2 separate regions of the Homo sapiens genome follow, and region 2 is linked to region 1. Evidence: promoter capture Hi-C in 16 types of primary human blood cells and fetal thymus (Javierre and others, 2016). All regions are on one chromosome and are shown on one strand. The core of a region is centred on a gene start or on the middle of the fragment in contact, and the rest is flanking DNA. Distances in the headings are between cores, read along the strand shown. Region 1 holds the start of MYCBP2-AS2 (MYCBP2 antisense RNA 2). Region 2 overlaps MYCBP2 (MYC binding protein 2).

Evidence for each region. The method cuts DNA at HindIII sites, captures the fragments that hold promoters and counts their contacts. A CHiCAGO score of 5 or more calls a contact.
Region 2: a contact is called between a fragment that was not itself captured here and the fragment with the promoter of MYCBP2-AS2 in region 1, in 3 of 17 cell types (total B cells, monocytes and megakaryocytes). The highest score is 6.4, in total B cells.

The regions. Positions count from the first base shown.
Region 1 is chr13:77,077,797-77,084,529 of GRCh38, reverse strand. MYCBP2-AS2 (MYCBP2 antisense RNA 2) reads left to right here and starts at 3,340. Exons shown (of 2, transcript NR_170173.1): 1 at 3,340-3,616; 2 at 3,869-4,019. It overlaps MYCBP2 (MYC binding protein 2), which reads left to right. Exons shown (of 83, transcript NM_015057.5): 63 at 1,338-1,498; 64 at 2,537-2,693; 65 at 2,879-3,103; 66 at 5,641-5,706. MYCBP2-AS1 (MYCBP2 antisense RNA 1) reads right to left here. Exons shown (of 4, transcript NR_046716.1): 3 at 1,418-1,520. The HindIII fragment of the contact is 5,615 bases long and covers 3,192-6,733 here.
Region 2 is chr13:77,186,871-77,193,603 of GRCh38, reverse strand. MYCBP2 (MYC binding protein 2) reads left to right here. Exons shown (of 83, transcript NM_015057.5): 28 at 1,791-1,925; 29 at 3,269-3,352; 30 at 4,557-4,653. Among named protein-coding and RNA genes, the nearest start is that of MYCBP2-AS2, 110 kb to the right of the region's middle. The HindIII fragment of the contact is 291 bases long and covers 2,023-2,313 here.

The sequences.
Region 1 (6,733 bases), core at 2,091-4,590:
TGCCAAGCCTTGATGGAATCTAGATGGCCTGCTATCTCCCTGTAAGAACAAAACTACATTCTTTAGAAGACAATATAAACCAGAACTTCTATATCAGTAGAAGATAATATAAACCAGAACTTCTATATCAGTAATCAATATATGCACAAAGAAGGAGGCAAAAAGCAACCATCTTTTACTTAGCTCAGTGACATAGTTTAAAAAGTTTGATGGGCTTACATTGGTAGCAAGATGGAAGAACAAACATTCTTTGCTGTGGAGTAGCAGCTTCTTAGAGAATGGTTTGGTAAGATCTATCAAAATTCACATTAAAAATCATTCAGTAATTCCACTTTTATGAAGTTCTCCTTATCATATATGCATGTGTGAAAAGACAGATATACAAGTTGATTCATTGCAGAATGTTATATAAAAACAAAAGATTGGAAACAACCTAAATGACTGTTCTGAAGTGGACTGATGAAATAAACTATGGTATTTTTATTCATCAGAATACTATGCAGTGGGATAATATATGTTACATACATATCTAATAAGTAATAATCTCAAAGATAAATTATTGTTAAAAGAACACAGATCAGTTTGTTTCCAGTGCTGCCATTTGTGTAAATGAACAATATTTATAGACAGTCCAAGAAACTGGTAATAGAAATTGCCAGTGGGAGGGCATCTAGGTGGCTGGGCTGTAGAGACAGGGAGACTTTTTATGGTATTTTTTTATACCTCTTGAATATTTTATTATGATGTGTGTTATCTACTCAAAATAATAAAAAGTTATTCCATAGTTAATATTATTAATGGAGCCATCTGAGGGTTGTAATGAGAAATGAAATTCAACCCCTACTTCTCTTTCCTAGCTGTGGTCCATTTGCGTAGAAAGGAGCTTTTTTTTCTAATTCACATAAAAATGCTGTATGAGTTAGTGACCACCCCAACTTCTAAACATATGTTATTTTTTATACATAAACATACACACAAAACATACCTACATATATGTATGTGTATATATCCATACACATACATATATATGCACACACACTACACATACACATGCATACACATGTGGATTCACCCTACAGGTATCTTTGTGAGTACACTAGAATTGATACATTTATTCATTTGCATGCTGATTTTGCTTGTGACTAAACTTACAGCTTTTTTCCCTAAAATAATACAAGCATAATTAGTTAAAATTACTGTATCTTTCTGGGTACAATTTGGTTTTGTTGTTTGTATTTCTGTTACATGACCATTTTTTAAGTATACATAATAGTCTTTTGTGAAGAGGATTCCTTCCAGCACACAAACTGATAAACTTGTTTCAATTTCTGCCTTAGGAGAAAGATACAAGAGTATGTGAACATCCACTCTCAGACATAGTGATTGCCGGGGAAGCTGCTCATCCTTTACCACACACCTTTCACCGCTTGCTGCAGACCATCTCAGACCTTATGATGTCTCTCCCCAGCGGCAGTTCATTACAGCAAATGGCCCTGAGGTAATTTTGGTATCCACATATCCTAGGTACATTGGACAAGAGAGTTTATGGAATATTCAAAGTATGAAATGCTCCAAAAAAAGCTCTTTAAATAGTAAGATAGAATCCCTACATTATATAGATGGTGCCTCCCTCCTTACAGTCATAATTTTTAGAATGGTCCTTCCTCTTAGTTAACATTTGTTTGCCCTCCTGTAAAATGTGGCTAATGTAATTCTTAGTGCCCTAAATTATCACTGTAGCAATCTCCCTCACTTTCCCCAGTCTCCTACCTCAAATCACTTAAATGTCCCAAAAAGAGAGAGGGAAAATGAAATCTCAAAAACAAAAACCAAAATAGAGTTTTGACTTGAAAAGAATCTTGGGGAAAACAGAGCCTGGTTGTATGCACCCAGTCCTAAAAGCACCTTAAGGAGCATCACAGATGCTCAACAGATTCCAATTTCAATTTGAAATGTGTTGAGAATTTAGCATTGCTTTTACACTGTGAACCTTGTTACTAGATTCACATACTGGACTCACACTTATAAATAAATTCTCCTAATTAATGTATACAAGAAATAGATTGATGGAATGCTTGGGCTTCCCATGTTACTAATGATAAGACCAGTGGAAGAGAGATTTCTCTTTGTCCTCCTCACAAGATTTTTGAACTACAAGATAAACTATACCCTGATGAATTAGTATGGCATTGTAAGAGTAATAAATTTGAGGGGTTGTTGCAGTTGGTGTACCACTTGTTTACACAATAGATTCATTACCCTTTTTGCTTCTGTAGCCTTGATCTTCATCTGTCTAATTCTTTTATATTTAAAATGGGTCAACTTTCCTTAGAATTTACCTTGTTCCAAAGAAGTTACCTTTATTTCTCAAAAACAAAAACAATAGGAATGATTTTCTTCCCTGAATTTTTAAAATGTCTGTTACTAGAACATTAAAATTTCTTGAGATATTAGCTACAGAGTACTCATCTAAGAGTTCCTTAGATGTTCCTGGAAAATAATTATTTCGTATATTGCTTATATATCGCCTTTTTAGGTGCTGGAGTCTCAAATTCAAGCAATCTGATCACCAGTTCCTTCATCAGAGCAACGTCTTTCATCACATTAACAATATTTTGTCAAAGTCAGATGATGGCGATAGTGAAGAGAGTTTTAGCATCAGTATACAGTCTGGCTTTGAAGCTATGAGTCAGGTCAGTCATTTCAGTTATTATCCTGGTTGTCCTGTTAGTTAATAATACATCAAAGGAGAAACTGTAAGTTATTCATAATCAATTTGATCCTGTCTTCCATTATGTTTTATCTTATACCTGTTTGTTTTATCATCACGAAAGATTTGCTTTTAAGTATCATAAGTACTTATATTTGTTTCTGATAGGAATTATGCATAGTAATGTGCTTAAAGGACTTAACCAGCATTGTTGACATAAAAACTTCAAGCCGACCTGCCATGATTGGCAGTTTGACAGACGGCTCCACAGAAACCTTTTGGGAATCAGGAGATGAAGATAAAAACAAAACTAAGAACATCACCATCAACTGTGTAAAAGGAATCAATGCCCGCTATGTGTCTGTTCACGTGGACAATTCCCGAGATCTTGGGGTAAGAAAGCAAACGTGATTTACGGCTCTTTAGCTCTTTTCAGATCTTAGTATTCATGCACTTTCATTTCTGAATTTAGCAACAAGCTTTATCACCTGGAATTTCACCAACCAAACATCATTGCTATAATCCCCAAATAAATCTTAAGTCTAAAAACAAATTAATATGATTGGGAGCACTGTGGAATTCCATTTCTGAAAAGAGGTCTGATTACAAATATACCATGGCTACAGCTAAGCAAAATGAAAGTCTGCTCTACAATTTTCTGCTGCCATTCCCTTGGTTAAGATTTTCCCGTGACCTGGAAGTCCTCCCCTTAAACTCTGCTGATCAATTCTTCCAGGGTCTCTCAAACTCAGCAGAGAAATTCTAAGTAACTCCTCTAAAAAATTACTCTTTCCCTCTGCTGATTCTTTTTGTATTACTCTGGTGGCACTTAATAATAATCTTTGACCTATAGTGTAATCAGCTTTTTTTTTTTTTTCTGAGATGGAGTCTCCCTCTGTCACCCAGGCTGGAGTGCAGTGGCACAATCTTGGCTCACTGCAACCTTCGCCTCCAGGTTCAAACGATTCTCCTGCTTCAACCTCCTGAGTAGCTGGGATTACAAGCACACGCCACCATGCTTGGCTAATTTTTGTATTTTTAGTAGAGACAGGGTTTCACCATGTTGTCCAGGCCGGTCTCAAACCCCTGGCCTCAAGTGATCTGCCCACCTCAGCCTCCCAAAGTGCTAGGATTACAGACATGAGCCACTGCACCCAGCCTATCTTCAAGTGTCTACTTTGCCACAGTCCTCATGAAATAAAAAATAAGTTTCAGACTGTCCCAAATAATCATAATTTATATTCTCTTCAGCCTAGTTCATCCATGTGTTTCAACTGAATTAAATATTCTTTTATAAAAGGCACTAAACAAGAAAAAAGAGTCCTATTTGCTTGAGTATTAACAACCAAGAAAGAAATAGCACTAACTGCCAGACTGCCTTTCTTCTACCTCATTTAGAATTTTTTTCCTCAGAATGGATGTGGCTTGCTAGCAGATACAGTATTAATGGCTCTCCTTGAACCATTGCCTGGCTTCTCCTGTGCCATTTGCATATTTCCTTTCTCAGGAAGAGCCACAGTGGTAGGATTGGGTCTCAGATAACCTGGATGCAGGCCAGTCTGCAATCAGAGCAACCTCCAACTCCTGTACATCAGTGCAGGTTCTATTCCTCCCTGGTATTGAGTAAGTAAAAGAGGCTTAGCTAATATAATATGAGCTATTTCCTCCTCAGACCTAAGAATTTCCACTGGTGTAACTACTTTATCTTACTGGAAAGTCAAGTGTAACAAAGCAAAACATTTTTGTAGCTAGAACTCACTGTTCAGTGCAAAGCTATCTTTGGCTCATGGTACATTTTAAGCAAGGACATACTCTCCCTCAGAACAATGATTGCAATCAATTTAACACTTCTGTCTTTTCTAAGAGGAAATAATCATAACAGTATTCATTTTCAAAATTCCCAACATGTAAGCTGACATCTACTTTCCTTTTAACAGGCTTCCTCTATGTTATAGGTTGAGCATTCCAAATCTGAAAATCCAAAATGCTACAGAATCTGAAACTTTTTGAACACAGATATGACACTTAAAGGAAATGCATATTGGAGCATTTCTGGTTTTAGATATTCAGATTTGGGGTGCCCAGCCAGTAAGGATAATGCAAATAGAGTATTTCAAAATCCTAAAAAATCCCTAATCCAAAACACTTCTAGTCCCAAATATTTCTAATAAAGGATACTCAACCTGTATGTATGTTTTCCTTGAGTTATGTACCTCCATGTTCCTCAACCTGCCTACCACAGAGCCTTGTACACAGCATTTGTTGATTTGAGTTGTATCAGCCTACAGCACTCATATTATGCAGCTCTCCAAGGAATTAATGTTAATCTATTTCTTGATGTGCTTTGCGTAAAACTTATTCAGCCTTAAGATATTTGACACTAGTTTGAACATGTATTGAACTTGTACTGTTTGACATTTATTTTGTGTATTAATGTTGCCTTCCCTAGTTTGGCAAGTATCTTGGGGGATAGAACCTCCTCTCATATATCCTACTTCAAATCTGTAAGGAAGTCTGGGTACATTGTGACACTCATAAGTATTTGTTAGTTCAGTTACCTTCCCTCTTTATACTTCCAAAAGTAATGAAAATATAGCAACAAGAGTCTGACATAAGTGACAAGCAGATTTGTTGAAAGGCTTCATGAGGAAGGAATCTGAATATTTAGACTTTGAATAAGGAGAGGGAATGTCAAGCTGTGAGAGAGCACCTGGAGAGAGGCTGAAATGTGCAATTTAAGATGGAGTTTGTGAGAATGAGACTAAAGTTATAGGAACCGTGGTTAGTTGGAGGGATGGGGTGGGGTCAATCAGGAAGGACCATAAGAGACAGGCAGAAGAGTTGATGTGGTATTAGTAGGTCATGAGAAACCATTGTAAGTTCTGAAGCAGGAATATAGCATATTAACTATTGTGAATTGTCTATTTCAGAATAAAGTTACCTCAATGACCTTCTTAACTGGCAAAGCAGTAGAAGATTTGTGCAGAATAAAGCAGGTAATTGAAATTTTGTCATTAAATGTTTCGCTACCTAGAGAGAAATTTCTTCTTCTCAGCCTTCACTATTGAATTCCACCCTTGGCACACAACCAAAGTATTATAGGGAATTATCTATTTACAGAACACTAAATTGACAAGTGGTCCAAAACATAGGAATAGTAACCACCATCCCTGTGCTGGACATCTCACCTGTTTTCCTAAATGTTCCCCAGTCATGAGCAATTATATTGTACCTACAGTCTCCCTACCCTACTCCCCAACAAAGACTCAGGGTATCTTAAAATTTATCACAGATCCCATTCACACTTAAAACCTTACTTCACCTATACTTTGAGTTAATACAGGTTATTGTCCTCTGGCCTGAAAAATCTGTCTGTTATAACACTTATAACACTGCAGCTATATCCAGGTTGCAAGTCAGTTTAAACCAACTTTAGAAACAAGTTAAGTTTTATCTAGGCATGTGTCTGAGACTGTGCTCAAGCTCCCTTACTTGTATTCATGAAACTTTGTCAAATCTGTTCCTCACTGGCTACTTTATCTCACAAAAAGTTGGCCAATCGCTTGCTTGCTTGCTTGTTTTCAAATCACATTGAAGGAATCAATTAAGATTTTGGACTAAACATATAATAAATTTTGTTTAAATTGTTGAAGAATTTGGGAAAATAATCCTATTCAATGAGATTGTGTTTGTTTATACTTAATACCCCTTTTTGAAAATTGACATTATTAATTAAAATAATATCAACTTAATGTCTATTTAAATCACATAGAAATCGCCAGGTCATTTCTTGGTTATTAAATGCCATAAGAACAGTTTTTATTTTATGAAGGGAATAGTGTCAAGAACTATTTCACAGTATATTAACATTTAATCCTTGAAAAAAAAAGTCATATTCTCAATGAAAATTAGTGAAATAAGGAATCACAAGTGTGAAGTTACATATTATGTAATTTTTGTTCAAAAGTAAAACATATTAAGTAACTGCACTTTAAAGTCCCTTATCTTTAAATGGTACTTTAA
Region 2 (6,733 bases), core at 919-3,418, 110 kb before region 1:
TCAGTCCTCTCTACGTAATCCTAAGAATTATCTCAATATTGTGTTATGATCAGTGTTCCCTGGTTTGAAGCAGGGAATATTATTATAAGAAAAATTATAAACTGAGCTTCATAGTAGTAATAGTGTGCTATGTTTCCCAACAATAACTATGTTAGGAAAACCTTGTAGGTTTTCTTGCTAGTGAAAATGTATATTTTCAGAAACAAGGATGATCGTAAGATACTGACTTTGCTTGTACAAGATATAAATACTTTTGAAAACAAAAGAGTAAATCTAAAGAAAATTTTGACTATTTCTTAGGCATTAACTAATATCGCAAGATTTTTTTAGTAACCTTTAGTGTTTTATACAAATGAATATTAGGGAAAATTTTAAGAAAGCTAATTGATTAATTTTCAGCAAAGCCTTAAGGTGCCATTGTCATTTGCCGTATTTATTTATTTCTTTATTTATTCATTTATTAATTTTTATTTTTGAGACAGAGTCTCACTCCATCACCTAGGCTGGAGTGCAGTGGTGTGATCTCAACTCACTGCAACCTCTGCCTCCCGGATTTAAGCGATTCTCATGCCTCAGCCTCCTGAGTAGTTGGGACTACAGTCGCATGCCACCAGGCCCGGCTAATGTTTGTATTTTTAGTAGAGATGGGGTTTTACCATGCTGACCAGGCTGGCCTTGAACTCCTGACCTCAAGTGATCCTCCTGCCTTGGCCTCTGAAAGTGCTGGGATTACAGGAATGAGCCACTGTGCCTGGCTGCCATTTGTTTTTGACCATATGAGTTTGAGTCGAAAATATAAAGCACAGTTTCATTTATAGAGAATCGTCTAGGATTTCTTCATTAGCTTATATACAAAGCCCAGACTCCTAAGGCATTGGGAGCATTGAAGGATTTCCATAACATCCAGCATCTTTTTTGACTTTCTACCACTACTCTTCTACAGCTGTCTTAATGCATTAATGAAATTAATAATGAACACCTTGTCATTTCCTGACCTCTTTTGTACTTCCATACCTCTACAGATTTTTTCATGACATTCTCCTGCTTCTTTAAATGCCCTTTATTCTTCTTTCAATTCCAGCTACAACCAATAAACATTCCTTCCACTCTGTTACCTAGTACTTTGTAACTTGTTTATATCCTTTAGAAGATGCCCTTATTTATTGTCTTTTTTCTTCTTCTAAATTAATAATGTTTGTATAGATATTATGTGACAGACTCCAAACACCTATCTGACTTAATTCATTCTAAAGGACAACTCTATGAGCAGGATATTATTTTCACCACAGTTTTCAGGTGAAGAAGCTAAGGTACTGAGAGGATAGAGTAACTTGCCCTGCGTTGCCCTGCTAGCAGGTCACAGAGCTGGGCCTTGAACCCAGGCTGCCTGACTCCAGGGCCATTTTCTTAATATGCTGCCTTTCAAAACTATTTAGCTGAATGAATGAGCTTTAAAACTAAAGTTCAGATTTTTATTTTCCAGCAAAATTTGAATGTTTTTTAATATCAGTTTAAAACATTCTAATTTTAATATGAAAGTTTTATAACATTTAAGGATATTGTAGAATTCAAGAAGAGGAGGAAGAAATGTAATTCTATCACCATAACATAAATAACTATATTTGCTTGCATTCTTGTCCAGACTTCTTAGAGTGTTTTTAATGTTGTTTGATAAGAATTTTATAATACAGTTAGTTTCATGTTTTTGTTCACAAGGGATTTTGAAAAAATAAATATATGTGACAGAGAAGTAAGAAAATATTGTTTTTGACTCACTAATTTTTTCTCAGAGAAAAATATGCAATGATGTTTGATGAGCCTGTTCTCCTGCAAGCTGGGTGGTGGTATGTGGCATGGGCCCGAGTGTCAGGACCCAGCAGTGACTGTGGATCTCATGGACAGGCATCTATTACCACAGATGATGGGTAAGTAAATGCCCAAGTGTTACTTAAGCAATACTTATTTTTGTTAGAGGAATATTGTTTTGAAAATTCAGAGTACTTTCAGCAGGATTCAAAAGCTTAGGAAGACTAGAGCATAATATAACTGCTAAAAATTAAATTCATGTAACCTCATGCCAAATTGAGGTCTAGACAGAACAAGGAGATAATAAGACCACTGTACTTTGCTCCTGTCAGATGGTATTTGTATATATTTCTGGGTATTACATTGTTTACGAGCTTGATTACCAAATTAGAAATTATATAGAGGAAGGTGACAAGGAAAATGAGGAGTTTGGAACCATAAAAAAGAAGTAGATATGTGATATTAAATTTGATAGTGCATGAGAAAACAGTTTAAAATTTCAAAGCTTCAGCAATGTGTGTTATTTTAATAAAATATAGGGAAAATTTTGCTGTTTTAAAATAACTTTCACGTATAGAGTACTTTTCAGTTCATATTCTTATATTTTATCTGATTTGATGCCCTCAATAGCTTTGTGAAGCAGTTATTAGCCCCATTTTATACTCCAGGGACTAGAGAAATAAAAAGGTGAAATTATTTGCTATTTCCTGAGAGTCATGTGGTTAAAACCAAGGTCAGACCTGTAACCTGTTGACTCTAAATCCAACATTTCAATATTCTATTACTATGATTTATGTATTCTAAAGGACTATCATTTGTAAGATAAATTCAGTTTATTCTTGATTACTCCTGAGCATAAACTATTTGAAATCAGTTGAAGTTATATAACAGTATATATTCCAGTGCAGGTCAATTCATAACAAAGCTGACCAAAAAAAGAAATAGACTTATTTGTGAGGTGAATTTCCTGTTGCTGAATATTCAAGGAGACTACTGTAGAAAAATCACATCTGTTGTTATGTGCATCAACTTAAGAATGTCTTTAGAACTAAGTGACTACTTTGACCCTGGACTGTATGATTTTCATAGACAGTTCATTCAGACTTGGAATGTCATGGCACACTGAGGCTAAAGCTTATCATGCAGCTAGTCAAGCAGATATTATACTACTTAGTTGTAAGTAGAAATTTTAGAAGTTTACTGCTGTGGTTAAAGCTGAGTTGGAGAGCTAGGAGGGACAGGACAGCTACTCATTTAGGAGTCCTAATCACGTTCAGTTCTTTCATTTTACTGACTAACCCATTCAGAGCTAGAATGAAAATCTAGAAAATACCTTTTTGCTTTTCTTTATGTAAAAGAGTGAATCATTTTCATTGACATAAGATTTGAAAACATGTTTCTTAAATTTCTTATTTCCTGTAATGATCATGTTGTTTTTGGTATCATTGTTTTCTCTTCTTAGGGTTGTTTTCCAGTTCAAGAGTTCAAAGAAATCAAATAATGGTACAGATGTTAATGCGGGTCAGATACCTCAGTTATTATACAGGTATTTAGCATATTTATACTGAATTAGTATGGTTTATTATTTTGCTATAATGAAGTAGAATCATTACAAAACGTGGCATAATAGGGAGAAATTATTTGAAGCATTCAGCAAATTATAATATGCTGGTAGAACTATAAATATATTTAACAAAAACAGTTAATATTTTGTATATTTTTAAACATTTTCCATACAGGCTTAACTTTAAACTTTGCCTGATTACTCAGATTATCTGTATTATACCAATAACAATATTTTACTGACTTTAAAAAAAATCTATCCATTGATTTTCTTACTAATTTCAAATGTTGTAAAAGAATAAAATTTGTCTTGGAGAAGTGAGATTGCAGGGAAGATGGGGAGGACTATAGATGCAGGCCTGGTTGATATATTGTAGTCTCATAAGACTGATAAAATGAGTTGGAAAATTCCCTACTGTTGGTAAATTTTCACCTTTAGCTAAAATACCAAATAATAACTTGCTCATATAATATTTACTATATTTTTAACATTATTGAAAAATTTTAACTTACAATAATTTAAGCATGTATAAAGGCATATGCCTGTGTTTACCTTATTTATTTCTAGACTACTGCAATACTTTTAGAATAAAGAATTCAAATGGATATAAACCGTTACTGAAAAATGTTGTCATTCGTTAAGCAGTAAAAAATCAAAGGAAATGGTCTAGAACTGTGATTCTATCTCCCTATCTTTCTTTCTGGTAATCACTTTGTGGTTACAAACATTATTTTTCCCCAAAAGGTTTTTTCGTTTGTTTGGTTTTTATGCACCGTGCAATCTGTTATAGTTACTGTTTGTAATATGTAGCTCTACAAACATAACGTGTTGCATTGGACTACTCCCAGGTACTCACTGGTTGAATAACTTTTAAATAACAGCATTAATAGTAGCATTACTAGAGAATATAAGTTATATGTTATATACATTATATATGTTCTCTAAGAAGAGGAAAAAGCCTCTACTACTCGGTCTTGCGAAGGTAGGATTTAAAGGAAGTGCCCATATGCTAAAAACTTTGTTTAGCTTGGAAAAATGTTTCAAAAAAGCCCTGTATTGGCATTACCTGGCAAAAAAATTTAAATATATAATTTATTTTCCCATTCAAAAATGTATAATATACTTTAAAAAGAAAAAATGACATTGGACTTTCTAACATAATTTTATATGTGTCTACTGCCTTTAGACTTCCAACCAGTGATGGCAGTGCTTCAAAAGGCAAACAGCAAACCAGTGAACCTGTACACATTTTAAAGAGGTCTTTTGCAAGAACTGTCTCAGTGGTAAGCCATGTTTTAAAAAATTTCAGCTTTTCTCTTCAGTCCTCAGATACATTTTGATGTTTAGAGTTTAGCTGCTCTTGTAAGTTTATCTTAGCCTAGATTTATAAACTCAGATTTGGTTTTGTATTCACATTTATATTCTAGACCACAGATAAAGTATACTTTAAATCATAGAAAAATGGAGGTGTTGGCCTATGATTTTAACATGACCAGATGAATTGGCCTTGCTGTTTTTGAAACAAATAACGATTTGCTTTTCTAGTAAATCATATATGAATGCATATGCTGAATGAATTAGAAAATGAAGGAAAAGTTAAGGATGGTGCTGGCCCAAAAAAGCGTGATTACTACTTGAGGAACTAGGTGGAAGAGTTGCATATCTAACTAGGAAGTTTGTTGAACCACTTGCCATCCCCATTGTACACATGAAGAAGCACAGTGCCATTGAGGTTAACAGTGCAGAATGGAAAGTCAACATGATGTAAATAAATGAAAGTATAAATTAAGGTCTTGATCTCTCATGTATTAATTGAGGATTCTTACGTATGTTACCTAAGTAAATTACATCATAGCATTTTGAATTTCTAATGAGATAAGGGGTGTAAGATGTTTTTGGAACTGTAAGGCACCATCTGAATGTGATTTATTAATATAGCTAGTAGTCTTTCATATTAGTAAAATGCATAGGAAGAATGTTTCTTTCCCTTTTAAATTTATTTTTCAACCCACCAAGTGAATATATATTCCTGGTAGGAATGAGATAAAAGTATCCTAAAAGTATATGAAAGATTTTTCTCCCATTCTCATGATCACCATATATACCTACTATTTACATTTTGGTGTGTATCTTCCCAGACCTTTTTTTTTTTTTTTTTTTGGTGAGGCAGAGTCTCGCTCTGTCGCCCAGGCTGGAGTGCAGTGGCACGATCTTGGCTCACTGCAACCTCCGCGTCCTGAGTTCAAGCAATTCTCCTGCCTCAGCCTCCTGAGTAGCTGGGATTACAGGCGCCTGCCACCACGCCCAGCTAATTTTTGTATTTTTAGTAGAGAGGGGGTTTCACCATGTTGGTGGTGGTCTCGAACCCCTGACCTCGAACAGGCTGGTCTCGAACCCCTGACCTCATGACCCACCCGCCTCGGCCTCCCAAAGTGCTGGGATTACAGGTGTGAGCCACCGCACCCGGCCTTCCCAGACCATTTTTATATGCAAAAAAACTTATTAGTACGTATCAAATACAGGATGCTCTACAACATGCTTGCTTGTTTCTTACGATACTTACAGTTTTCATCTTTTTTAGAAAATTTCGTATTATATATCATGGACATCCTTCCCTGGCAGTACATTTGGCTCTGTCAGTCTTCTCCGTTTGCGTACCATTATTCTAATTTATTCAATCTGATATCTATCAAAGAACCACTTTGATTCTCATTTTTTGTTATTTCATCTTGCTTCATGAGCATCTATACACATACATCTTTAAATACTTGTGTACTTATGTGCATACTTCTACTGGAAATATGCCCATTTAAAGTTTGGTATATCCTCTCAAAGTTGACCTTCCAAAAGAGCCATGGCAGTTTGTAGAGCTTGTGCTTTGAATAAAAGACTATGAGAACTTTGGCTTCTTGGTAACTTTGCATCCTATTAGTCTTAAGTTGAGTTTGGTATCTTTTGATTCAAATAAGGATCTTTGACTCTGTTATGCTTTCTTTAGTGATCTCACTTTTCTGTGCTTGGTAACCCCTTTGTATTTATGTTTAAGTGGTTTTGTGGCCATTAGGTAATTGTAGACTTTATATACAAAACTTATTCAGTCATTTCTTTAAAAGGTAAACTATAGGGCTTAGCACATTGGCTCACGCCTATAATCCCAGCACTTTTGGAGGCCGAGGCAGGAGGATTGCTTGAGCTCAGGAGTTCAAGACCAGCCAGGGCAATATAGTGAAACCCCCATCTAAAAAAACTTAAAAATTAGCTGGGTATGGTGGTGCGCACTTGTAGTCCCAGCTGCTTGGGAGGCTGAGGGGGTGGTGAGAGGATAGCTTGAGTCCAGGAGGTTGAGGTTGCAGTGACCCGTGA